Linked DNA regions of Homo sapiens: regions 2, 3 and 4 are each linked to region 1. The links are contacts of gene promoters, found by promoter capture Hi-C in blood cells and fetal thymus (Javierre and others, 2016). All regions are on one chromosome and are shown on one strand. Each heading gives the region's core, a stretch centred on a gene start or on the middle of the fragment in contact. The rest is flanking DNA. Distances are from core to core; before and after follow the strand shown. Region 1 holds the start of QRICH2 (glutamine rich 2). Region 2 overlaps RNF157 (ring finger protein 157). Region 3 overlaps PRCD (photoreceptor disc component). Region 4 overlaps UBE2O (ubiquitin conjugating enzyme E2 O).

The links. The method cuts DNA at HindIII sites, captures the fragments that hold promoters and counts their contacts. A CHiCAGO score of 5 or more calls a contact.
Region 2: a fragment that was not itself captured here is called in contact with the fragment with the promoter of QRICH2 in region 1 in 2 of 17 cell types (M1 macrophages and M0 macrophages); the score reaches 8.6 in M1 macrophages.
Region 3: a fragment that was not itself captured here is called in contact with the fragment with the promoter of QRICH2 in region 1 in 3 of 17 cell types (naive B cells, erythroblasts and total B cells); the score reaches 8.4 in naive B cells.
Region 4: a fragment that was not itself captured here is called in contact with the fragment with the promoter of QRICH2 in region 1 in 4 of 17 cell types (M1 macrophages, M2 macrophages, M0 macrophages and 1 more); the score reaches 8.0 in M1 macrophages.

What each region holds. Positions count from the first base shown.
Region 1 is chr17:76,304,742-76,311,665 of GRCh38, forward strand. QRICH2 (glutamine rich 2) reads right to left here and starts at 3,535. Exons shown (of 19, transcript NM_001388453.1): 1 at 2,724-3,535; 2 at 141-200. The coding sequence starts at 3,257. It overlaps PRPSAP1 (phosphoribosyl pyrophosphate synthetase associated protein 1), which reads right to left. Exons shown (of 10, transcript NM_002766.3): 10 at 4,737-6,924. The coding sequence ends at 6,801. The HindIII fragment of the contact is 8,448 bases long and covers 1-6,924 here.
Region 2 is chr17:76,156,049-76,162,987 of GRCh38, forward strand. RNF157 (ring finger protein 157) reads right to left here. Exons shown (of 19, transcript NM_052916.3): 9 at 6,504-6,575; 10 at 5,795-5,954; 11 at 5,487-5,599; 12 at 3,287-3,525; 13 at 2,345-2,453; 14 at 162-273. Among named protein-coding and RNA genes, the nearest start is that of FOXJ1, 18 kb to the left of the region's middle. The HindIII fragment of the contact is 3,973 bases long and covers 1-3,713 here.
Region 3 is chr17:76,543,197-76,549,559 of GRCh38, forward strand. PRCD (photoreceptor disc component) reads left to right here. Exons shown (of 5, transcript NM_001077620.3): 5 at 607-2,180. It also overlaps a transcript of CYGB not described here. Among named protein-coding and RNA genes, the nearest start is that of PRCD, 6.3 kb to the left of the region's middle. RefSeq lists an enhancer at 4,114-4,617. The HindIII fragment of the contact is 237 bases long and covers 3,512-3,748 here.
Region 4 is chr17:76,435,920-76,443,011 of GRCh38, forward strand. The region is part of intron 1 of UBE2O (ubiquitin conjugating enzyme E2 O); the gene reads right to left. Among named protein-coding and RNA genes, the nearest start is that of UBE2O, 14 kb to the right of the region's middle. RefSeq lists enhancers at 808-1,309, 5,132-5,649, 7,074-7,092. The HindIII fragment of the contact is 534 bases long and covers 2,158-2,691 here.

The sequences.
Region 1 (6,924 bases), core at 2,285-4,784:
CCTCCAACCCTGGGGCAGAGACTTGAGAGGCAGAGGGCACACACTGCCTGCCCTGGATGGACAAGCCCTGGAGAGAGGGCCACACTGAGAGACGGCCAGCCCCCTGGAGAGCCCTTTCCCATGGAACTGGCTGGTATTACCAGGAATTGCTCCCGATCTTTGAATAGCTTCTCTAGTTCATCAACCCGCTGTAAAAGTACCTGGAAGAAGAGTTCAGGAAAGGAGAATGACAGTGGCCCCTACACACGCACACTCACATGCACACACACACAGATGCGCACACACACTCTCACACTCAGACACACACATGCATACACGCACATTCACACACTGACTCAGTGCCAGGAGACGAGGAAAGGGGGAATTTGTGTGGCTCTTATGGAAAGGGAGGGTTTCTTCTTCTACTTGGGTTTTTTTGGTTTCCTTTTTTTTTTTTTTTTGAGACAGGGTCTTGCTCTGTCACCCAAGCTGCAGTGCAGTGATGCCACCACAGCTCACTGCAGCCTCAACCTCTCAGGCTCAAGCGATCCTCCCACCTCAGCCTCCTGAGTAGCTGGGACTTCAGGCATGCACCACCACATCCAGCTAATTTTAAACATTTTTTTGTAGAGATAAGATCTTGCAATGTTGCCCAGGCTGGTCTTGAACTCCTGGGTCCGAGCAATCCTCCAGCCTCGGCCTCCCACAGTGCTGAGATTACAGGCAGGAGCCCCTGCTTTCTACCTGGTTTTTACCTGGCCAGTCAGCCCAGGCTCCTGGGTCTTTTCCCAGCCAAGTGCAGGAAGGGAAGTGAGATGCAGTGGGGGACCTGGCTGGTAGCATGGCAGGAGTAAGTGCTGCTGCAGGGATGGGACCCTTTGGTCCTGGGATTCAGTTTGCTCCAACCCACTTGTGAAAGCCTGTAGGATGAGGCCCACCTTGCCTTACAAGGAAGGAAGGGTGCCAGGTACCTCAACAGTAGCTGAACATCTGTGCTATCTAAAGAGAAAAGCACCTCAAAAGAACCAAAGCAAATCGCTACAACATAAGGTGCTATCATATTTGGGATTAAGAAAAAATATATTAATAAACAAAAATAAAACAAGTTACTTTTTATAACTTTTGCAAACTTCTAGAATCTAAGATTACGTAAAAATTAAAACAAAAGGCCAGGCGCAGTGGCTCTTGCCTGTAATCCCAACACTTTGGGAAGCCGAGGCAGGAGGATCACTTTAGGTCAGGAGTTCGAGACCAGCCTGGCCAACACGGCAAAACCCCATCTCTACTAAAAGTACAAAAGTTAGCTGGGCATGGTGGTGTGCACCTATAATCCTAGCTACTCGGGAAGCCGAGGCAGGAGAATTCCTTGAACCCAGGAGATGGAGTTGCAGTGAGCCGACAATGCACCACTGCACTCCAGCCTGGGTGACAGAGTGAGAATGTGTCTCAAAAAAAAAAAAAAAAAAAAAAAAACCCAAAAAAATTAAAACAAAAAAAACCCCCACCACACTTTAAAGTTTGAAAAGGAAAGCAGACATGCTTCCCAGAGCAAAAGTGAGTTGGTGCTGCGGTCTCGAGACCTGGGGTGATATGGCAGGAGGGCATGAGCGGCCAGGGCTCCCCTGCTGGGGCTTGGCCTCTTCTTCCTGCCTCTTCCCGGCCTCTTTTTCCCCTCCTGTCTCTCCTCTTGGCCTCCCCACCCAGCTGCCTTCCTAGTTGCTTCTGCTTTTTCTTTCAGAACCAACCTAAGGTGGCTCTGAGACATGCACGTGTCTATTACCTCCTGGCGCTGACCTGCGTTGCTTCCTGCTGTTCACTGGACAATACTTATACTCAATGATTACATGCATTTGTCCCTCCAAGAAAACAAAAGTCCAGTTGAAGGCAGGGCTCAGTGGCTCACGCCTGTAATGCCCAGCACTTTGGGAGGCCGAGGCGGGCAGATCACTTGAGGTCAGGAGTTTGAGACCAGCCCCGCCAACATGGTGAAACTCCTTCTCTACTAAAAACACAAATATTAGCCAGGCGGGGTGGCGCGCGCCTATAATCCCAGCTACTCGGGAGGCTGAGGCAGGAGAATCGCTTGAGTCTGGGAGGCGGAAGTTGCAGTGAGCCGAGACTGCACCACTGCATTTCAGCCTGGGTGATAGAGTGAGACTCCTTCTCAAAAAAAAAAAAAGTCCAAGTGAAACGGTCCCCTGCCTGCTGTGGCTTGTGTCATGGCCATAGGAAGCTGAGGTCCAACTCTCCATCCTGACTCCCCTTCTCTGGGAGCCTTTGTCCTCAACACGTATCTCTTCATGTCCTTATTCATTTTAAAAAGGGAATTCACTCTAAGAATCTTCTGAGAAGTTGCCGGCCCCACTCTGAGCCAGCTCTGGGTCCTTGGATGTCTGATAAGTGGTGGGCGAACCTCTCCCGTAAACAGGGGCTAGGAAGGAGGGGGTGGGATGGGGCCACTACACTTAGGAGGTGGGGTCCCCAGGCCCCTCCAGCTCGGGGAGGCCCTAGGCCTTTTGGTGGCGTTCTTTTAGGATTTTCACGTCTTGCAGCCCCGTGGACTGCAAGGTAGAGCATGGGCCACTCTATTTAGCCAGTCGCACTGAGGTCTGGCACCTCCTCGGTCCCCATCCCCTCCGTCCCCACCACCGCTCACCCCTCCAGGGTGGTGGGGACTCGGCTAGGCCTGGAGGGCGGCCTGGAGGAGGCAGACGGCCTGCGCGTGCCTCCGTGTGCGTGCTCACCCTGGCAAAGCTGAGCTCCTCGGCGGCGTCCTTCATGATACTCCCAGTCCGCACCCTATCGAACGCCCGCACGCCCACCTCCTGCTCCTCCGGCCACTCTAGCGCGGCCAGGTCAAGCCCGCTGGCCTGGGAGAAGTGCTGCACGTGCGTGGCGATGCCCTGCACCTGGCCGTCCACACGCTTGAGCTGCTTGCTCAGGTCCTCCACCTGGCCGCCCAGGTCCTTCACTTGGCTCTCCAGCGCTGACGAAGGCGCCTGGCCCACGCCCCTGCGCTTCTCCCGGGGCGCCCCCTTGGGCACCTCCTTGGGCGCGGGCAGGTGCGGGATGCTGAACGAGCTCCGGACGGACTGCAGCGAGCGGCTGGGCTCGGGCGACGAGGGCTGGAAGTCGATCCGGGTATTTTGGAGGTCGAGGTTCTTGAGCATGGCCACGATGAGCGTGTGCAGGGCCGTGAAGTTGACGGCGCCCACCTCTGGCGTGCCGATGGAGAGGTCCGCCAGCTCCCGGAGGGAGACCGTGGTCGCGGGCGGCATCGTGGCTGTCAGGAGCTGTGCGCCGCCGCGGGGCGCCGGCCAACCACTTCCCGCTCACTGCACGCCGCGCCTTGGGGCCTTTCGGGGGCCCTGCGAGGTCCTCGGGGCGCCCCTGCCCCGGGTCCGGCCGAGTCACTGGACAGAGCTCCTGCCTCCAGGGAATCTGCGCCTCCGCTCCCCGGCGGGGTCCGCGATGGCCACCCCTCCGCTGTCTGTCGCTGGCCTCGGGTCCCCGAGCTGGAGCCCTGGACTCCCAGTCCCCGCGCCGGCGGACGTTTGAAACGTGGGGGCCCCCGCGTGCCCTGAAGATTCCACGTAACAACACGCCTCCCTGCGAGCCACGGGGGCGGGGGGAAGTAAAGGCCACCACAAGGATCACAAGGGGAGCCTTGGCAACGGGCTGAGGAGGCCTCCTAAGATCCAGCTAGACTCCATCCATCCCCTTAACCTAGAAAGGCCAGGATTCACTCACTCTTGGCGGGGCCACATAAGGAAAGACTTGAGGGTTTCCTGGCAACCATGCTTTGTGTCATCAGCTGCGTCCATTCCAGAGTGGTGGCCCCATGTCTATGGCCCCATGTCTAAGGGATGCAGTCCTGGGGCCCTGGTCCCCTCAGACAGTCCACATATTTTGTTCAATCAAAGGTGAAGCAACTTGGAAAAGACAACCCACTCACTATTCAGGCAGTTCCAATTAGCCACTAGATGACTAACTGGTGGCTAATTGTCCCTTTTCTGTGCTGCCATAATTTTTTTTTTACTTTTGAGAGGGAGTCTTGCTCTGTCGCCCAGGCTGTAGTGCAATGGCACGATCTCGGCTCACTGCAACCTCTGCCTCCCGGGTTGACATGATTCTCCTGCCTCAGCCTCCCGAGTAGCTGGGATTACAGATGCGTGGTACCATGCCCGGCTAATTTTTTGTATTTTTAGCAGAGACGGGGTTTCACTATGTTGGCCAGGCTGGTCTTGAACTCCCGACCTCAAGTGATCGACCCACCTCGGCCTCCCAAAGTGCTGGGATTACAGGTGTAAGCCACCGCGCCCAGCCTGCCATAAATTAATTGATCTCAAAAAAACGGCCAGGCTTGGTGGCTCACACCTGTAATCCCAGCACTTTGGGAGGCCGAGGCGGGTGGATCACCTGAGGTAAGGGGTTCAAGGCCAGCCTAGCCAACATAGTGAAACCCCTCTGCTAAAAATACAAAAAATTAGCCGGGCATGGTACCGCGCATCTGTAATCCCAGCTACTCGGGAGGCTGAGGCAGGAGAATCGCGTCAACCCGGGAGGCAGAGGTTGCAGTGAGCCAAGATCGCACCACTGCACCCCAGCCTGGGCGACAGTGCAAGACTCTGTCTCAAAAAAAAAAAAAAAGAAAAGAAAAGAAACCACTCACCTGGTCAAGCGCCTGTGCTTGAGCTCATTACAAAGCAGGATTAAACAGCACGAGACAAATCTGGTGTTAACAATTGAGACATGACTTCCCCATACAAGATTCTTCCCAAAAACGTATAAATAAAACTTCCTAACAGAAGCACAGCAAGGCTACTTAAAGAGAACCTATGAATGTGTGCCATGCATGGCCAGCCTCCTCCGTGAGCTCTGCATCTGCAGATTTAACCAACCACGACTGAACACGTACAGATTCCTGTCATGATTCTCTAAATAATACAGCATGACCACCATCTACACAGGATATTGCAGTAGGTATTACAAGTCATCCAGGATGTGCATAGCTTATATGCAGATACTACACCATTTTCTATCAGGGACTTGCACATCCATGGGCAGGAGGTTGAGTCCTGGAACCAATCACCCATGGATTGTAAGGAATAACTGTACTATTTTAACTACTGTTCAAGTTCAGATTTTTCACTTCAGCCTGAGAGGTACTGTTTATTTAATTGAAGGATTTTCGATCATCATTATATTCCAATAACTTGGGACACAGTAGGCCTTTAAGGGGTTATCAAAATAACTAGTTCTTTGCAGTCTTTTTTTTTTTTTGAGATGGAATCTTGCTCTGTCACTTGGGCTGGAGTGCAGTGGCACAATCTCAGCTCACTGCAATCTCTGCCTCTTGGGTTCAACCAATTAATTCTCCTGCCTCAGCCTCCCGAGTAGCTGGGATTACAGGCGTGCACCCCCTCCCCCAACACCCGGCTAATTTTTGTATTTTTAGTAGGGACAGGGTTTCACCATATTGGCCAGGCTGGTCTCAAACTCCTGACCTCAAGTGATCTGCCCACCTCGGCCTCCCAAAGTGCTGGGATTACAGGCGTGAGCCATGATGCCTGGCCTCTTTGTAGTCTTTTTATGCTTTTAACTTAGCTAGGCTAATTTTTGTATTTTTAGTAGAGACGGGGTTTTGCCATGTTGGCCAGGCTGGTCTCAAACTCCTGACCTCAGGTGATCTACCTGCCTCGGCCTCCCAAAGTGCAGGGATTACAGGCATAAGACACGATCCCTGGCCTGTTTTTTTTTTTTGAGACAGGGTGTTGCTCTGTCACCCAGGATGGATGGCAGTGGTACAATCATAGTTCACTGCAGCTTCAACCTCCTTGGCTCAGGCAATCCTCCCACCTCAGCCTCCCAAGGTAGCTGGAACTACAGGCACATGCTACCAATGCCTGGCTAATTTTTGTATTTTTTGTAGACATGGGGGTTTCGCCATGTTTCCCAGGCTGGTCTGAAACTCCTGGGCTCAAGCAATCCTCCTTGCCTCAGCCTCCCAAAGTACTCAGATTATAGGTGTGAGCCACCACACCTAGACTTTTTTTTTTTTTTTTTAAAGATTTAAAATACAGTATTCAACAAGGATTTAGCTTCAACACTTAGGAAGAGGGTGGAACCTGGGAAAGTGTTTGTGTCCAGCCACAGACCTGACTGCTGTTCTGTATCCATGGTCTTCTGCTGTCTAATGAAAAGACTAGCAAGACAACAAATTATTTTATTTGCAACTTCAGAGCCACTCAGATACCCAGAGGTGGGATGCTATTTTCTAATCTGACATCCTTGGAAGATGTAACAACATGAATGCTTCATTTTTCAATGGCTGTAGGCATAACAATTTCTGAAAGAAAAATACGATTCTCTATAAAAGACTTGAAGTTGATTTGGGAGAGGCCAACTGGATAGTAATAGGGCCACAGGCGCTCAGCTTCCCTAACCAGGTTCAACATCAATACCTCCATTTCCCTGGAGCTGAAACAACTAAATGAACATTATAGAGTTAAGACTTTATGTGCCTTTAACTCCTCTTTAGTATCAATAAGATTTTCAGATTATTTTTAAGAAAGCAGCTAGAACTTTTAAGGAACAGGGCTGATGACAGCAGACATGTAAGGCCATGTTATGATATTTATCCATTAGCTCTGTCTTCTTCCTGACTCTTTTAATCCCTCCTCCCCATCAATCCGGGCAAAAGAAGATATCTAACTCCAGGCTGTTTCGAGTCCTCCCTTGCAAGGAAACACTGTATCACTCATGGCACTGCTTTTTCCATGTTTCCCTCAGGAGGTCCAGGGTCGAGACCCTCGTGAAAGCTAGTCATCCACAGTGATGTTTCGGAAAAGGTAGGCCATGGACTCTCCATTGTGGATTCTCCGAATGGCTTCAGAAAGAATCAAACTGATATCCACAGTCTTTATCTTGGGACATTGCAGCTTC
Region 2 (6,939 bases), core at 477-2,976, 150 kb before region 1:
GGTAGGAAAGCAAGTCCTCTTCCCTCTCAAGCCAGGGCCTACTTGTCATGCAGTACAGGTATTAGCTTGCCACTCCCATGTCCCTTCCCGGAAGAAGCACCAGGACACTGTGGGCTGGGTAAGGGGGAAGGACATGCAGCCACTCCCCGCTCCTTATGTACCTTCTGGGGAGGAAATAGTGGATGACAGAGGCGTCCCTGTGCAAGACGACTGGTCAATAGCTCCAGATGACGACAAGGTGAGATTCTCACTTTCTGGAGTCACACCACATTCCTGGGGGTTGTGGGGGGACACAACAGGACATGGAGCAAGCGCCAGTCACCTGTGCTGGAGGAAGGGGTCAGGGCGGAGGTCTGGGTAGAGATGAGGAGGAAAGGCGACACTGGGAGGGACTGAGTGGCATGCAGAGGCCGCAGCTTCTCTCTTCCGTCCTCACTTCAGCCCAAGCCTGGAATGACTGCCTCCCAGGGGAGGCGCACACTTCAGTCAACACCTCCTGCCCAGGGCACAGCATCTGCTGCGGCCATACAAAGACTGCAGCTCGGGTGACACAGGTCACCCTGCAGCTGTGACATGGGGACACCCCAGGTTTCCCCAGGATTATGATCAGCTTTCCTTCTGCGGCAAAAGCATACAAAGCCAGCAGAGGACTTCCTGCCTGCAGGGTATCTCCACGTGGACCCCAGTTAATTCCTGCCCAGCTGCTTTCTGATACAAACACCACCTTGCTCCCCAGCCTGCTGCTCCTCCCACACCCCCACCTCCGATCCCAGCCCCGACCTGTCAGGCATCTGGGTGCACAGCCTCACCCGTCCAAGATGGATGCAAAGTTCTACGAACTGTATCTCCATAATCCCTTCCCTTCCCTCCAGGCGCTCCTCTTTTGTCTTAGTTCACGCAGTCCTTCTTTTTTTTTTCACTTTTTTTTTTTGAGATGGAGTCTCGCTCTGTTGCCCAGCCCAGGCTGGAGTGCAGTGGTGCGGTCTTGGCTCACTGCAACCCCTGCCTCCTGGGTTCAAGCGATTCTCCTGCCTCAGCCTCCCGAGTAGCTGGGACTACAGGTGCATGCCACCACACCTGGCTAATTTTTTGTATTTTTAGTAGAGACGGGGTTTCACCATGTTAGCCAGGATGGTCTCGATCTCCTGACCTCGTGATCCGCCCGCCTCGGCCTCCCAAAGTGCCGGGATTCCAGGCGTGAGCCTCCGCGCCCGGCCAGTCACACAGTCCTTCTTGCCTGGGCTACTGAAACCCTCTCCTGGCTGGGTCTGTCTCCCGTCTAGTCCAGGCTGCACACTGCGGTCGGGTGGGCCTTTGGGGTGTGAAGCACTCACTGTGCCCCTGGCTTGCTCCGAGCCCCGACTTCCTGCTCTGTGCCTTTGCATGCATCGTCTTCTCCACATGGATGTTTCTCTCACCTCTTTCTCCATGTCTAAAAAACTTCCAGGTTTAGCTAAAATGCTATTCCTCCATAACACATTTTCTGATTTCCTCCACTTACAATGATCTTTTCCATCTCTGACACAGCAATTTATCGTCTCTGTTTTGGGCATACTTCTTTTTTATAAAATTTACTTAGTCATTGAACAAATACTTACTGAGCAACAACAACGTGCCAGGCACATGCTATTCCCATGTATATGTCCTGTCCCAGCCAGACCTGAGCACCTAAGGGCAGGGACCACTTTATTTACCTTCCTGTGCCCTGCTGTATCTAGCTCAGTGCCCTACAGAGAGAAGCTGCATAAACCTTTGTTAAGTGAGGTCTCTGTGGGACGCACAGAGTAGAAAATTCCAGCCTTCTCTTCCATTCTTCCACATGGGCCTCCCGACACCCCCCACTTACCCCCAGGACTTTCTCCTTGCTGTTCCCAGACCTAGGGCCCTCTCTCCTCGTATATCTGCATAGCTAGCTCTACCACTTCCCTTGGTCTTGGCTCCTGGACCGCTTTTTAAGAATGGCAGCCCCCACTTCCAGCCGTGACACTCCCTTCCCACATGTCACACATGCTGATCCACAGCACCATCAGGCACACATGTATTTTTTTACCTATTGTCTTTTGTGCCCCCCACCCCAGATAGCAAGAATATAAATGCTACAAGGGCAGGGACTTTTGTAGTGTCCCAGCTACTATCCTCAGCATATAGCACAGTGCCTGGCAAATAATACAGGCTGCATACACTGTTGAATGCATGAATCCAGTGAAACCTTTGCCACTGCCTCAGAGGGTGCTGACAAGGTGTTTGATGAGTGAATGAGAGCAGAGGGACCTGATGAGGCATGCAGGTAGGAGGGAAGTCCCTGGAGTACAACACCCAAGAAGAGGAGAGGAATGTCAATTACCTCTCCGAGATGCTGAACCGACGGTCTCTGAGAGAGCTGTGTCTCCGACTCGCTGCAGGAATGCTCATCTTCCTCTTCATGCAGCACGGAAGAGTTTTGGGAAGTGGATCTGTAGGAGTCCAGTGGAAAAGCAGCTATATCCAACGTCCATTTAAAGAACAGAACTTACTGCAAGGGGAGCTGAGGGGAAAACCCAAATATTTTTTGCTTGTTTATTTTTTGAGACAGCATCTCATTATGTTTCCCAGGCTGGGCTGGGACTCCTGGGCTTCAGCGATCCTCTTGTTGACGCTTTAACAGAGGAGGAGTACAGCCTCCTGAGTAGCCGAGTAGGTCTGGGCTAACTTGCCTGGCTCGAAACCCAAATCTTAAGTAGGACTAGGGAAATAGAACCAGAGAGGGATGGAGACCTCTTTTGGGTGTCAGAAGCGCTAAGTTTTACTTTTAGCTCCTCTGATGACTTGCTATCTAAACTTGGGAAAAACCACTGCCATTTACAGGGTCTCAATATTTTCATCTGTAAAATACCCTCCCCTTTACTCTGCCACAGAAACCTTGTCATGATTTGTGCCTAGCTGGATTTAGATGTTTAAGAGATACGGATCACAAGGTTCCTTCAGTCTTCGGACTAAGCAATGCTCCCAGGGGCCTAGAAGGCCCTATCCACAGTGTTCAACATCCTCTTCCCTATATCCCATCCCCTATCCTTGAAAGAAAAAAAGAATACATAAGAGATTTGTCTCATCAGAGTTTTCTTAAGTACCTACATACCATCTTATTTTCATCTCTTAATGGATGGGATAACCTTCACGCAAGCAGCTCTGGGAACAGCCCAGAGGGTTACTCTGCCCTAAGTCCCCAGGATGTGGGCCAGCACCAAGGAGGGATGAAGCATTTCATCAAGGATTCCGGGGGCAACAGTGTGGAGCACTGGCTACTCACTTGGAGAGACTCTTTTTGAGTTTGAGTCCCTGACTGCTGCTGTCAGACAGGCGGTCAAGAGGCGAGATCGTCCTGACGGGGGGCAGGTGGCCATCACTGCCATATGAAGGGAGCATTCCTGAGAGGTGGCCATCTCCAAGCACGTGAAGTGGAGGAACTGCTGGGGACGGGGTGAGGGGCCCGTTGAGGGCCTCCAGAAGAGATACTACTTCATAGCCTGGTGGAATATTCTCTGAGGACTAGGGGAATCAGAGACAGGTTGAAAAATTAATTAGGTCCTTTTTGTTTTATGACGTGATCATGCTACTTCTCTACACTGAAAAAAATGTTTTATATCTGTTCTTGGGGGGGTCTGGTAAGAACAACTGTACTAGAGGCAGAGATAAAATATCAAAGAATCACACACTGTAGATCCTGCTTATTGGTAAGCTTTTTCTTAATAATCTCTATTTTTTTTCTGATTATAATGGAAATTTGGAAAATACATAAAAGTAAAAGTAAGGAAAAAAAATCACCAGTAATCAAATCACCCAAAGTTACTTTTGTTAGCATTCTGGTGTCTCTTCTTCCCATTTTTTTTCTGTGTACTATTTACACAGTTTTGATCAATCTGTAAATAACAATTTTATATTCTGCTTATTTTATTATACTTTCCTCTTTAAAAAAATAGAGATGGGATCTCACTATGTTGCCCAGGCTGGTCTTGAGCTCCTGGTCTCAATTGATCCTCCCACCATGGCCTCCCAAAGTGCTAGGATTACAGATGTAAGCCACCATGCCTGGCCAGAACATAAATATTTTCCTTTGTTTCTGAAGCCTCTTTATATATGTCCCCTTCTCATAGATCCCCTAAGTTTTCTAACTATTCTCCTAGTGCTGGGAATCTAGTTGTGTCTAACACATCCTATTGTAAACAAGTTTTGATGAACATCCTTGAATGCCTTTTTTTCAAATTATGTTCTTGTTATTAAATTATTAGCTCTTAGATGATGAGGTATAAATGTTTTTAAGGCCTTGATATATACTGCTGTTTTCTGCTGTTTTTTTTTTCAGTGCCTTTTCTAGTTACACTCCTATAAGTAATACAGAAGACCTATTCTGACTGCTTCCCCGAAAGCAGGGAGAATCGCTAAAAAGAAAAGTTTTTAAAATTTGAAAGTTGGAAAATGGTATTCTCATATTTGCATATCATTGATTTTTAATGTGGTTGAACTTTTTAAAAAATTCTATGTTGAGTGTGTTTTGTTTATGCCCTTTGCCCTTTTATCTACTGTTTTATTCAATATGAACTATGGCAAAGACATTAGCTTTTCCTCTGATACACACATTGTAAATAGTTTTTAAAAAAACACTATTTGTTGTCTAACTTTTAATTTTGGTTACCTTTTAGACCTCTGAAGTGCTAAACTTTTTAGGTGGTAAAATGTATGGTTCTTGCTTTCAAGCTTAGAGAATCCTTTCCAATCCAAAGTCAACTAAATAATCATCTATAATTTATTCTAGATTTTGAATGTTTTGCTTGGTTTGCTGTAATGTTTGTTTGGTTTGATGCTCTTAATATAGTTAACTAGTTACTCCAGCTGGAATTTATTTGGTAAGGAGTAAAGTGCTAAACTAATTTTTCCTCCTGAAATAGCTAACTAATTATCCCAATACCATTCACTAAATAATAATCTCTCCCAGCAGTGCGTTAGTCTAAAGAAAGACAGTATCTGCTGCTCTCTAACTGCAAAGCTTTGAGGTTTCACCCTAATATCAGCACTTACACTAGGAAACTGAAGTCAGTTACTTTATCTCAGGCACTGAGGCCACAAAACAGGATAAAGAAAAACAGTTACTTTCTTCGAGGATTCAAATAAAGATAATAAATTGTATTTAAATCCAAAATAATCGTCCCATTGTTTCTGCCTGGGGGAGTTCAAGTTGAACCTCACTGGAGTGAAACTGCAAGCAGATGGCTCTAGGAATGGTAAACATTAACTGGACACCAAGTTCCCAAGGAGGAAAAGGGAGGTTTTCAGTATTCAATTTTCCACAGTAATAAGTTGGTTTTAACGCATGCTCTCAGCCGGCTTGCTAAATACTGCAGCATGCCCTGGTCTAATTCCTTGCTGCAATGCCACGTAGAGAAGCATGAAAAGTTTAAAAAAGCCAATGAGGCATTTGCTTCAGAGGGGCCGTGGTTCCGAGCCCAACTTACTGGATGCTCTTCAGAGTCAGATGTCTGGGATGAGATGATGGGGTTAAAGCTGGTTGGGGACAAGGGGCCCAATTTTTTCCTCATGGCTCGGATCTGAAGCAGTGCCCGGAAGGCTGTGAAGGAGAAAACAGGCAATCAGGACATCCTGATACAGGATTAAGAATGAACAAGAGCCCAGACAGAAACCATGATCCCTCCCAGCGCGCATCCGTTTGTCAGATCCAGCAGCAGCACATGCTTCAGTGTTTTGTAAATGTCCTCTTGTCCCCTCTCCCACCCACCAGTCCCCCTGCCGCTCTGGGGCTTACGCAGTCGGCAGATGGGGCAGTTGTTGGCCTGGTAGCGCAGCGTGTCTGCACAGGTGTTACAGAGGCAGAGGTGGCGACAGGGCAGAATCAAGGTGTCCCGGACATCCGAGAGACACACCACACACTCGGCACTGTTATCACTCACTTCGTCTTCAGCCACCTGGCCAAGGAGAAAGAAATGTAGCCAATGGCACAAAGCCCTTCCTGTCCCATACTTTACTGACAAGGCAGCGTGGCTGAAGAGCTAAGATAAGTAATAATTACGAACAAAATCTGCATTGACATTGGACTTTGTCATTTTCCCAGTGCGTCCACACACTTAGCTTCACTTCTTCTGGGAAGTGTTTATCTAAAATTGAGAGGACGAGACTAACCACTCGAGCTCCTCCTATAAGGCCCAGAGCTGGGCCTCTCAAATCTCAGCTGAAGGGACTTAGGGGATCACACAGATAAAGGAAAAGGAGCAAAGAAAGGGCCCTGGTGGAAACCGAGTTGGACAGAGCTCTGTGGCAGAACAAAGCCAAACCAGCCTACTTTTCTCATTTCCAAAGTGGTAAAAGCGTAATGATCTGAAATGAGGAACAAGAAAATACCCTTCTAAGACCTAACTGATTTCAGAGTTTGGCACGCTAAATTTCTGGACGCTGGCTTACGATTTCTCACTTGGCCTCCTGGAAAGAGTACATTCAGAATTTTGGGTAAAACTTACCTTAGAATCTTGTGTGTTGTACTTGTTTTCAATTCCATAGATCTCCTGAAGGAGGTAGCTGACCCCGTCTACCTGAACAGCAAACAGAAAGGTTCAAGGACAGGCTGTCTCTACTGAGAGACAAGAGTGGGAACTCCCTCCAATCTTACCTCTTTTGGTAACCAAGGACTACCGATTCATAATGAGAAAAAAAATCAAAGGCCTGGATAAGTAAAAGATGCTTTTATTTACTTATGTTTTCTCTTTGAGAGAAGAAAGAAAATCAAATATTTAATTCACCCATCATTATATACAACAGGGAACATAAAATTTCACAAATACAATAATAATACTTGCACTGCAGCATACTATTATGGACAATTAAGAAGGCACAGACTAGAAAAAGGATGGAAGGGCATGCATTAAAATCTAGGCATTTGCTATATAATCCAATTTG
Region 3 (6,363 bases), core at 2,380-4,879, 240 kb after region 1:
GACCTGGCTGGGCCTGGCAGAAAGAGCAGACGTGCTCGCTGCTCTCGGACGGGCTTCCTTCCCTCTGAGTTCCTGAGGCTCCTCTGAGGGACTGCTGAGCCTGAGAAAGCCTAGGATGAGGGACTTGCTGGGTCCACCAGGCTAATTCTGGGGCAGCCAGCAGCCCAGGCAAGAGGCAGGAATAAGTAAGGAGTGAGGAGACCCCAGAAGCAAGGGACGGCTGATAGCTCACATTTACTAAGCAAGGGCTTCCATTCATTCTGTAATTTAATCTTCAGTCACCCACAGAGCCTGGTAATGTTATTATCCACAATTTCTAAATGGGGAAACACAGAGACAGGTTAAATAATTTGCCCAACATCACCTAGCTAGGAAGTGGAGGCTCCCAGGCTCACACTGGAGCTGCAGAGCCCACGCTCCTACCCACCATGGCAGGCGGCCTCCCCCTGGAACCTAACAGTTTGCAGGGGTTGGGGGTGGTTTGCTGGCCTGGCCAACTGCCTGTCAGCCCAGGAGCTATTCTGTTAAGCCGCCACTTGTGGTCCGAGGTGCTGGTGTCGGTTTGCCACAGTGGCACTCGCTTTTGTGTCATTTGCCTTTCCCCAGTTCCCAGAGCTCATCCTGTCACTGGCTGCTCTGCTGAAATTATCAATAAGAAATGCCAGTTGGATCTGTGACATGTCTGCCTGCAGCTGGATGGGAGCAACGGACAGCTTGTCCTCCGAATGTGTTTTCTGTATGTGTGCAAGCGCGTGTGTTCCAAACGGGCAGTAGCGTGTGGGAAGGAAAAAGCCTGACACTTGTTTTTATCAATTTGCTGATGCTCAGTCCCGGCGGCTGCCTCCTTTGCCCCCAGCTGCTCTGCCATTTCTCTCTTTTCAATCCTGCATGATCCTGAGCAGAGATAAAAGCAGATTTCCGCTTCTGCTCCCAGATCCAGGAGCAGACCCTGCAGGCAGCTGCTCCTGATGTCTCACAGCTATTAGTCTTCAAAAACCCCCCGTGCCTCTGTGCACACGCGTCTCTCCTCCCCAGCCAGCCCCCCTCCCAGCCCAGCGGCGATGTCTCTGCCTGGCTGGCCCGTGCCCTTGACTTCCAGGCAGTAGAAGATGGAGTTCTCTAGACAGCAGCACTTCAGCCGCCACTCTGCCTCTGAAGGGAAGGAAGGGAAAGGGTGAGGGATGCCGCAGAGCAGAGGGAACCGCTGGGGAGGCGCTCAGGGTGGGGGAGGAGGTGCACCCCGCTGGGGAGGGCCTGCTGGTACCTCGGGGAGCCTGGCTGGGGTGTGTGCGAAGGCAGTTCTGTGGGAGCCTCTCAAAGTAGGGCAGGCAGGAGGCAGGGGGAAAGTCACACTAGGGAAGGAGCCTGCAGAGGCAAAGCCAGAGCGCCAGCCTGACCCAGGCCGTGAGCCCGTGATCGCCTGTCTCAGCTCCTGTCAGCCTGTCTCTCTCTTTGGAGGCATCGGCCTTCCTGGTGACAGGCCTGTCAGGCTGAGGGCCAGAGGGCACTGTTCCCGGGACCCAGTCTGTGTTCCCCGATCCTATCTGCATTTATTCTCTATTTGCCATGTTCCTGTCACCTCATCCTTGCTGCCATTTCCGAGTTGCTCATCTCCTTCCACTGGTCTGAGGAATTGTCAGGCCAAGGTCATGGAGCTGGCTCACGGCCCAGACGCACTTCCCCAGGGCAGCGCCCCTCCACGCCACTGTTCCGAGAACCTGCGCAGGAGGTGGTGGCTGCTCCAGGGATCCATCCAGAGGAAGGGCGGGAAAAAGAGAGGAAGGGGCTGCTGGCGGCCAGCGGGGCTGTGGCTGCCTGGGCTTGGAGGTTGCCTGGGCAGCTGGGGTGCCATGTGGGCCGGGTGGGGGGGCTGTCTCCCCCAGGGAGCAGGCTGGCTTTGGTGGGAGCAGATTGTGTTTACACCTTCCCCGCACACCCAGCCCACGCTCGCCTCTTATTCCCGGGGCCTCTCCCACCCCTGGGCTCTCTGCGCAGTCTGCACATTTGCAGCTCCTGCTGCAGAAAGTTACCTCTCTCAGCCTAGAGCTCCCCACAGAAGGCTCCTGGGACCCGGGTGCCCCTTCCTTGGCCCACTGGCTCCCATCACAGGGCTTAGTGTGAAGCTCAGGGCAAGGGTGGACCTTTAAATGGGGGAATTAAATCCTGACTATGACACTGTCCCCACTGAGGCTGAGTCCTTTTTCATCCCTTTCCTTGCAAAGAGCCGCTGCTTGGGAATGGGAGCAGGAGTGCTCAGGGGCTTGGGAGAGGGCAGATAAAGGGCAGCTAGAGAGGGAGAGCTGAGCCAAAGGGTGGGGTCCCTTCTGGTCTAGGGTGCTGGCTACTGTGAAATAACAAGAGTCCAAGAGCAAGGTGTCCAGAGTCAGAGCTCCTGGGTTTGAACCTTGTTCCACCAGCACATCCTACCTCTGTGGCCTGGGTAAGTTTCTGAACACCTCTGTGCCTCAGTTTCTTTAGCTGTAGGATGGAGATCCTACTGGTATCTGTCTCTTAGAGTTGTAAGGGTTGATTAGATAACGTGTGGAAGATGCTTAGCATGTTGGGTAAGTGTCCCATATATGTGAGCTGGCACAATCCGGTTTGAACTGTAAATTACTGAACAGTGGTAGATTCAGGACGGCTAGAGTTCCTCACATCCTCACTCTCTGGTCCTTCCTGCCGTCTCTCCACATACACAGAGCTGGGCGACCGGTAGTTCTGCAACAGATCAGAGGATGGCAGAGGGTGGCATTGCTGGGGTGGGGAAGCCCCCTGTAAGCCTGTACTGGAGAAGACCACCACTGCCTCTCTGTGCCCAGAACCATGTCCCAACCTCCAGTGGTGACCTCGACCTGGACAGCGCCACTCCCAGCTGGCTCTGCTTCCGGAATGAACCTCAGCTCCTTGACAAGACGGGAGGCGCTGCCCTGCTGTGGTACCTTCCTCCGTGTGAATGCTAATATCTCTGCTGGGGGAGCCTGAGTGACGGGGAAAGGCTGCTTGGAGCTGCAGGGCGGCTGAGGGCAGCAACCAGGAGCAGGGAGGTGCTGCTCCTGCAACTGAGGCTCAGAGCGGCTGCCAGTCTCTCCTGGAGACTGGAGCATGACCAGGGAACTAATGAGGCGGTGGGGGTGTGGTGGGAGCCAGGGAAGTAGCCACTGCAGCTGTGGCTGTCCACTGTCACCCTGGGGTGTAGATGTCACCTTGGGGAGTACCCACCCATTCCAAGTGTGCGGTTGTGTGTGTGTGTGGTTTGTGTGTGTGTGTGTGTGTGTGCGCGCAGTCCTGGGCAAGGGCAAACAGTACAGGTGGTGGGCCAAGACTAGATGGGTAGGGCACAGTGCCCACTATGAGACAGGCACAATGGCGAGAGAGCAAACCCTGCTGGTTCCTCAGGCTCCCGTAGCCTCTCTGTGGGGGGCCTCACTGTTAGGAAGAAGCCCAAGACCTAGAGCTAGAGGAAGATAATGCTTCTTTGTGAACCTCAGAAGAACAGTTTGGTTCGCACGGAAGCTTATGTTAACATAATGATGATACTAATCGTATGATTAATAACCACTAACATGCATTGGGCGCTTACTATGTGCTAGGCACTGTGCCAGCTGCTGTATTTTACGCACTGTTTCATTTATGCGGCAGGAACTGTTATCATTTATCCAATAAGGAAAGTGAGGTTCACAGAACTTGCTCAAGGTCACTCATAGCTGGCAGTGAAGCCAGGACCTGAGCCTGGGAAATCTGACACCAAAGCTTGGGATAGAGGGGGCCCAAGTCTCGAGTTGGGGGCCGTGAGGAAATTTTGATTGTGACCTGTCTACAAGGCACAAGGAATGGAGCTGTGGTCCCGCCCAGCCTGCCTTTGCAAGTGGGCTGGTGTTGGCCAGGGTCATTGCCACCAATCTGTCTTCAGGAACTCACATTCAAGGGCAGACCAGACTCTAGGCCCTGAGAGGCTGGTTCTTGCCTGCCAGGTGAGGGGGAGAGGAGAGCTGCCCCTTTAGGACCCCTCAGTCTTCCTCAGGAAGGATGTGGTGGCCTCTGGCAGGGATGACAGACAGCGAGGTCATCACCCACAGTCACTGCAACTGCCACTCTGTTGCCTCCTTCAGCCAGGGGCAGGGCCCTGGGGAGAGGACAGGATGGCAGCCAGCAGCCCAGCTGGAGATGCGGAGCCTGGTGAGGAAGGTTGTTTTGATTTGTTTTTGCAGGGGGAGGGTGCAGGCCATGGAGACCAAGGAGGTGGCTTTCAGGGGGATCCGCTGACAGTGGGAAGCCAGTCCTTGTGCCTAAGGAGCACAGACCCTCTCTGTGTGACACATGTGCCCCCTAGTGGGGATGATGACTGTAGTGGGGGACTGAGAAAATTTTTAAAAATTTACTAACAGACTCAGCCTGTGCACCTGGGGAGGAGAGGCCAATCCTGTCCCTATGTGAACACACACACATTCACACACACACACACACACATATTCACACACAGAGACACCCACATTCACACACACAGACACACACACACAGAGACACATACATTCACACACACACATACACAAACACAGTCATATACCTATACAAACATATAATACACACACAGACATACACACATTCACAGAGACACACATTCACACACACACACACAACACACATTCACACACACACAGACATACACATATACATATTCACACACATACACATACACACAGACACACATAACACATTCACACACACATACACATATACAAACATATTCACACACATATACACACACATACACATAAACATACACATACATACACATTCACACACACATTCACACATACACATGCATACACAGACATACACATATACGAACATTCACACACATACACACAGACATACATGTACACACACAAATAAAACAGACACACAGAAACACACACACATAATCACAGATACACATGCATACACAGACATACACATTCACACATACACACACACATATACACCGACACATACACATTTACACACATACAGACATATACACTTATAGACACACATAGCATACACATACACACAGTCACACACACAGATACACATAAACATACATACACACAGAGAGACATACACATACACAAATACACACAGTATCATATGCAGAGGCAGAAGCCATTTGAACTAAGCATTAAAATAAATTAATGTGTTCATTTGGTCATTTATTTAACAAGCGTGTCCTGGGAACCTGCAATGTACAAACCCTGTATCAGGTGTCAGGAGTGACACTCGAGGAGAGACAGACCCTGCCCTGCTGGTTGGTCCTATAGGAAGGCCCCAGCCTCGGTGGCCTAGTTCTGCCAGCCCAACCCTGCCTGTCCCTGTGACCTTTAGTTCTCTGGACCTCGGTTTCCTCATTTGATAAACATTTGTCAAGCCCAGGTGGGCTGGAGTGAGGACGCAGAGGACTAATGATCTCCTCAGGAAAAGAACAGTTTAGTAAAATGAAGGGGATGGACCAGAAGCTCTCTGGGGGCCCCACCGACTTTCCCAATCGAAAGCAACTGTAATGAACTGTGTCTGGAGTGCTGTGTGCCAGGCACTGTGGATCCAGAAACGGATTAAGACCTTCTGCCACAAACAACCAGAAAACTGGGCAAGATATAAGCAGCAGACACTTGACAACAGGCAGCACACAGGACAGTGACCCCATGACTGCCTCAGCTTCTGCCTGGAGACAGTTCCCTGACTGTGCCTTGGGGAGGGGAAACCCAAGCGGACCACAGTGGCTTTGCTAAGGTGAGGAGGAGACAGAATCAGAGGTCAAGACAGTGTGAGATTCATAAGGATATACACACAGATCAATGGAATCCAAAAACAGATGCAGAAAGGCAATCCAATGGAGAAAGAAAGGTCCTTTCAACAGGATACAAAAAGCACTAACCAGAAAAGAAAAATCAATACACTGGACTTTATCAAAATTAAACCTCTGCTCTTGGAAAGACTAGGAGTAAATATTTGCCAAACAAAAATCTGAGAAAGGACTTGTATCCGGAATACATAAAGAACTTTTACAATTCGATAATAAGATGGCCCAATAAAAAAGTGGGGAAAGATTTTAATAGACACTACAACAAAAAATAAACATACAGCTAAAATACATAGAAAGTTGTTCGACATGCGGCTGGGCGCGGTGGCTCACGCCTGTAATACCAGCACTTTGGGAAAGAAGAAAGATACTCCACATGCAAATCAAAAGCCCAATGACATACCACTACATGCCTACCAGAGTGGTTACAGCTGAAGGCCGACCATAGTAAGTACTGTCCAAGATGTCACCCTGTCATACACGGCTGGGGACTGGTGAAGTGTTACAACCACTTGGGAAACCAGCAT
Region 4 (7,092 bases), core at 1,175-3,674, 130 kb after region 1:
AGCTGGGGATCCTGCAGATGTCACATCAAATTCTCATCATCGTTAGGCCCCGTGCGGTGGCTCACGCCTGTAATCCTAGCACTTTGGGAGGCTGAGACGGGCGGATCACCTGAGCTCAGGAGTATGAGACTAGCCTGGGCAACATGGCGAAAGCCTGTCTCTACTAAAATACAAAACATTAGCCAGGCATGGTGGTGTGCACCTGTAATCCCAGCTACTCAGGAGGCTGAGGCAGGAGAATTGCTTGAACCCGGGAGGCGGAGGTTACAGTGAGCCGAGATAGCACCATTGCACTCCAGCCTGGGCAACAAGAGCAAACTCCATCTCAAAAATTAATTAATTTATTAATTAATTAACAAATAAAAGACTAGAACAGCCATCCACTGAAATAATAAAGAGAAGTTATCCCCGAGTGGTAGAATTATGGGTGACTTTTTTTTTACCCACCTTTCCTATGTCCTTGCACTTTTGTATTAAGTATATAAATAACTTAATAGACCAATCAGGAATAAAGCTATAAATCTAAGGCAAATAAGAGGATGACTCCAGCAATTTTTCTTCGGTGCTGGATTGTCAGAGACTGAAGAACAGACTATTACACCTGGGACTTTCCCTCCTTGCTGGACCCTGAATCCCCGAGAGCCTAGACGATGCCTCCAGGCCCCTGCCCTGCACGCTGTCCCTCGCCTGCTGCTGCTCTGGTGTCCAGCCACCACCTCTCTACTCAAAAGTGCTATCCAAGGTTCCTCACAACTCCCAAACTGCCTCTCTTTACAAAGCATCCTACTTGACCCCTTGCCCTGACATCAAAAGCCACTGGCTAGCACCCTCCTTCTGAACAAAATTCAAAAAAGGTAACGCCTCTTAGGACAGAGTATAAAATGGGGATTAGTGAAAGATCAACGAGGAGCATTTATTTCAACATTTAAAAGGCAATTATGCTAGGCTGGGTGCAGTGGCTCATGCCTTTGAGAGGTCAAGGTGGGCAGATCACTTGAGGTCAGCAGTTCCAGACCAGCCTGGCCAACATGTTGAAACCATTTCTACTAAAAATGCAAAACAAACAACAACAACAAAACAATTAGCTGGCATGGTGGTGGGCACCCATAATCCTAGCTGCTCAGGAGGCTGAGGCAGGAGAATCGCCTGAACCTAGGAGGTAGAGGTTGCAGTGAGCTGAGATCCCACCACTGTACTCCAGCCTGGGCAACAAAGTGAGACTCCATCTTTAAAAAAAAAAAAAAAAGGTGGCAGGGCACAGTGGCTCACTCCGGTAATCCCAGCACTTTGGGAGGCCAAGGCAGGCGGATCACGAGGTCAGGAGATCGAGACCATCCTGGCTAACACGGTGAAACCCCGTCTCTACTAAAAATACACAAAATTAGCCGGGCGTGGTGGCGGGCACCTGTAGTCCCAGCTACTCAGGAGCCTGAGGCAGGAGAATGGCATGAACCTGGGAGGCGGAGCTTGCAGTGAGCCAAGATCATGCCACTGCACTCCAGCCTGGGCGACAGAGCGAGATTCCATCTCAAAAAAAAAAAAAAAGAAAAAGAAAAAAAAAGGCAATTATGTTAAATGCAATGTAGTATCCTGGATTGGATCCTGGAAAAGAAAACTAATCCAAATAAAAGTGTATGGTTTAGATAACAGTATGTGGCTGATGTTAATATCTTTTTTGCGAGATGCAGTCTCACCACAATGCCCAGGCTGGCCTTGAACTCCTGGACCCAAGCGATCCTCCCTCTGGCCTCAACCTCCTGAGTAGCTTGGATTACAGGCACGTGCCACTGTGCCTGGCTCAATGTCAATTTTTTTACTTTCGACAAATATATATCATGATATGTAAGATGTGAACATTAGGGAAAACTGGGTGAAGGGGATACGAGGACTTTCTGTATGATCTTTGAAACTGTTCTATAAATCTAAAAAATGTTTGTTTAGAAACTGCAATTATGAGGTTATGAAATAGGACAGCAATAAGAATTAAAGGAAGATGGGGGACAGGCTAAATACACGCTTCGAAGGGAGGTGTCTCTCGTTGCCTGGATGCCTCCAGGCATCTAATTTGCAATGTGTTCAAAACGGAATCTCCCTCCCCACTCCTCTGTCCACACTGCTATTACCGGCAGGACCAGCCACCTGGCCATGCTCATGAGAAGCTTGAGTCTCTGCCACGCTTCCCTCTTCTTACTGCCTTTTGGTAGGTGACCACATGTCTACATCCACTGCTTTTAGAAAAGGTTTTTCTAAAAGCTATAAAACTTAATGGTTTGAGGAGTTATTATTTAATTGAGACAGAGTTTCAGTGGGGAATGATGAAAAGTTCTGGGGGTGGATGGTGGGGATGGTTGCACAACAATGGGAATGTACTTAATGGCACTGAACTGTTTATTTAAAAATGGTTAAAATGGTAAATTTTGTTATGCATATTTTACTACAATTAAAAAAGAAAAACTTAAAGGCTCCTCGTCGCTCTTCTGATCACCTCAAAGCCCTGGCACACTAATGTCCCTACTCCTGCTCTGTCTCCCACCTCCCCCACTACACCCCGGCTCAGCTGTACGTGCAAGGCTGTGAAACACATGCTTTACCTGTTATTCCTCAAACGTCCTTCACACCTTTGCGCCCCATCTGAGAAACCTTCTCCAACCACCTCACCTTTCTCTCTACCTCACTACTCTAATAATTGAAAGCTTTATTACTGTTCTCTTAGGTTCGATAGATTTCAGATTTTACTGGGGGGTTAGGTACTAAGTCAAATTGAACATCATTAAAATTATCCTTGAAAAATCCCTTAAATCCATCAGTAAGACCAACATAACCAGTGTTTCCTCTTGCACTGGAACAGATCACTGCTTCTTCCACTGAATACGGAATGAAGATGTTTGTTCACACTTCCGGGTCATTTTGTGTGAGAAGTCAGCACCTCTAGCACTCCACGCCATGCATGCATAGGTGACGCCATGCACACCGAGGGCACAGAGGACACAACTCATCTGCCCCATAAAATCCTCCTAACTGGCCTCCAGGCTTCCTAGCTCCCCACATTCCACCTTGTAAACTGCCGCCAAATCACCCATTGTAAACTCTGATGTAAGTCCTCTTTATGTAAAAAACAAATCCCAACTCCTGAGTCAGTCATCCAAAGACCTGCACACACACAGCAAGCATGACACCAGTGGCCTTTCCAGGGGCAGCTGACGGCGTGGTTTGGAGGCGCTTGCCTGGCTTTAGCCCAAGCCTTTCTGCTCACTGCCTTAACCTCTCCTCCTCTGTGAAGTAAGAACACCTACTTCACGGGGTTCTCCAGTGACTGTGCCTAGAACGCGGCAGGTGCCAACAAACCTTTGTTGTTATCGTTATTTACAGTCCTGTGCAGCCTCGCCTGCCAGCACTCTCTCACCTGACTTCTTCCACCCCACCTCTAGCTCAGTGGTCCTCAAAATATGGCCCAGGGATCCCTGAAACCCTTTCAGGAGGTCCAAAGTCAAAAATTTTCTATAACAAGACCAAGACGTTATTTGCCTTTTTTCCTCTCATCCTCTCCAAAGTCTGCAGTGGAATTTTCCAGAGGCTACATGATGTGTGATGACGTCACTGCTCTGATGGCCAATAGAATGTATGCCCAGGCATTCTTGGTTTTTAAGTTTGTTTTCTTAAATGGTAGATGTTAATAGAAACAACCCATACAAATAAAAGCTCACAAAGCTAAAAAATTATTGTGGTCCTCAATAATTTTTAAGTTAAAGGAGTTCTGAGGCCTAAGTCTGAAACCACTGAAATGAACTTCCTGCCTCTCTTGCCTTTATGCGCACTGGACTTCCCGCCCAGGACGCCCTGCCCTCCACTGCTGCTATTCCAAGCTCTTATCTTTCAAGAGTGAACTCAAAAGGCACCTCCATGACAGCATCTCCTAATGCTCCCCACCACATCCTTCAGCATCTCAACTGTGTCCTGCAGGTGGAACTAGGCTCTCGCTCCCTTATGTGCATCAGTCATTCACCCACTAATTCCACTCATTCGCATGTGTGCAATCTGCCATTTCCCAAGTGCTCACTAAACAAATCTCTCCTAGCACCTACTTTGGGCCAGTCACTGAGGATATAGCAGTGACAGAGATGCTTCTGTGCTTCTCTTACCTTCCGGCTGGGGACAGTAAACAGGACATGAAGTAGTATAATCTCAGGTAATGCCAGGTGCTATGAGGGAAAAAAGCTGAGTAGGAGATCACAGCGATGGTTCTCTCTCCTATCTAAGTCTCTGAAGCAGTGCTACCCAATCCAGTAGCCACTATGGTAAAAAGAACGCACAGTCTCTCATTAGTACTTATCATATGAGTTATATGTTGATATAATATTTTGAATACATTGGGTTAAGTAAAATATATTAAAATTAATTTCATCTCTTTGTTTTTTTTACTTTGAGACAGGGTCTTGCTCTGTTGCCTAGGCTTAAGGGCAATGGGTCGCACGATCACGGCCCATTGCCACCTCGACCGCCAGGACTCAAGCGATCCTCTCACCTCAGCCTACTGAGTAGTTGGGACTACAGGCGTAAGCTGCCACGCTAAGATGATTTCTGTACTTTTTGAAGAGATGGGGTTTCATCATGTTGCCCAGGCTGGTCTCGAACTCCTGGCCTCAAGTGATCCGCCTGGCTTGGCCTCCCAAAGTGTTGGGATTATAGCCATGAGCCACCATGCCTGGCCTCTATTTACTTTTTTCAGCTGTGGCTCACATTGTATCTCTATTTTTCAGGATCCTTCCAGAGCAGAGGTGGGAAAACTACAGCCTGCAGGTCATGTCCAGCCTACTGCCTGTTTCTTAAAATTTTATTGGAACATGACCATGCCCATTCATTTGCTTACTGCCTCTGAATGCTTTTGTGCTATAATGGCAAAGCTGAGTTGTTGTGAAGGAGACAGTATAGCCTGCAACACTAGGACATTTATCATCTGGCCCTTTACAGAAAGTTTGGCTGGCCCCTTATCTAGAGGGCAGGGCCTGTGTGGGGGTATCTCTCTCCCCACAGCACCCAGCACAGTGCAGGGGGCACCCGTGTAGTCAGTGAAGAGAACCTGCATTCGGGCAGCACAAACTGGCCTAAGTTTGAATTTGGGTTGGCCTCCCACTTGCTATGTGGCCTTGGTGAGTTATAAGCTTTCTCTGGGTTTCAGTCTTTCCTTTTCTAAAATGGGGCACTGGCCACTTTAAGGGAAGTGAGATGACACAGGTAAAGTGTGAGTTAACATGCCTGGCTCACAGCAGGAATCCATTGACACTGGCTGGATAAAAGACAGCAATTTCATTAAAATGCTGAATAATCATTCTCCTCTTGGATTGGGTGTGTTATACTCAAAACAACTACCATATTTACATCCTAAAATGAAATGAAATCAAATGAAACTTCTTAGCAACAGCAGTGCATTAATAATAACCACCAGCAAGCAATGGGGAGGAAGAAAGAGGCAAGCCTTTCTAACACTAAAGCACTGGCGGATGATGAGTCCGCCTCATCCCTTTCCTGCCCCTCCTGCAGCCCACCTTTGGACAATTCCCGGTTCATTAACACTGGCACTAGAAGAATAAGCAGAGGGGAGAGAAAAAGCCTCGAACCAAAGACGTACTAAAACTGAACCCATTGACATCAACGAGGTTTGGAAGGGCCCATATAAGTGCAATTCAAAAGACAGTCCCAGCCAGCAGCATCAATGTCACTGGGAGTTTGTTAGACACGCAGATTCTTCAGCCCAATGGAATTAGGACAATTTGCATTAGGAGACCCTAGGTGATGGCATGTGGCATTCACCTTGGAAAAGTGCTGGATTAGAATCCATTTATTCATGCTCTCTTCACTTCCCCCTCCCCCTCCACTGATAAACAGGGGTGGTTATATCTACTTTCAATAGATGGTTCCTGACTCCTTCAAAGTAATAGGCCTGGCATAGCCACTGCAACTCCAGGCCCCGCCCCCAAGGGTCTTGGTGCAGGCAGAGTGCATAGCCTAAGCTGCGTTCCTGATTCATTTGCAGTCGGGTGGGGCATTCTTTTTCCAATAGAGAGCCTCGTTCGTACTTAGCCATCCTCCTAAGGTGAGGACTGGGTGCTGATAACCATTCAGGAAACCCACGTGTGTGGAATCTGCCATTTGTCAAGTGCTTTAGGCGGGGTTCTTACAGGGGAAATGCAGCCAGAAGCAGCTTCATTTCGACCACAGGTGACACCAGCTCTAGCTAGCTCTAGCCTAGTCCACAATGCACGTAGTCTGCCTGGGGAGCCCGCGACGGAAGTTGCCAAAGTAGTAACTACAATATGGTGTATTCTGATTAATCTGCTCTTCCTAGTATTAGGATGCCCATACGTCCCAGTCCTGGAGTAATTATTCATAGTACTCTCAAAAGAACCCAACTTGGGCAATAAATTACTGTACATGGTCAACACACCTAGTACGGGGGGTGGGAGACAGAGTGGTCTAGTAAGGGGCCCATACAGCTCCAGCACAGACCACAGGGCATCTGGAAGAAGACTAAGAATACTATTTGTAGTAAGTGGGAGGGAGCAAACTGGTCATTCATGAAGATGTTTCCCAAGAGTCTGCATGTGCGTGATAGCACACAAGCTTTAGGATTTGCTGTCTCTGTTTCTCAAGGAGCTTCCCATCCAGGAGAGAATGTGGGTGTGCCATGGGGCATGAGAGGAAGGGAACGGCACAATTGAGTTGGGGAAAAGCAGTCAGATTGGCTGGAATCAACTGAAGAGGCAGGAGATAGAGCAGGATGTGTAGGTGAGGGGCCCTGAATGACAACCAAGGCATGATCAGAGGCTGGGTCCTGACACAATCCAGGCGATCACTTGGGAGGTCAGCCCTTTGGAGGTCAGTTGGCGGCAGCGCTGTTCACTGGTTGAAGGAGGACTAGAGGCAGGGAGACCAGGGAGAAGGCTACACAGTGCAGGCATGAGGCAAGCAGAGAGCAAACCAGGGTTGTGAAAGGGAAATGCAGGCACAGGATGCAAGAGGCCTCTCAAAGAACTGATGACAAGTTAGAATGAGGGCCAAAGAAGGTAAATTAAAAATGACCCCAAATGCTCTAAT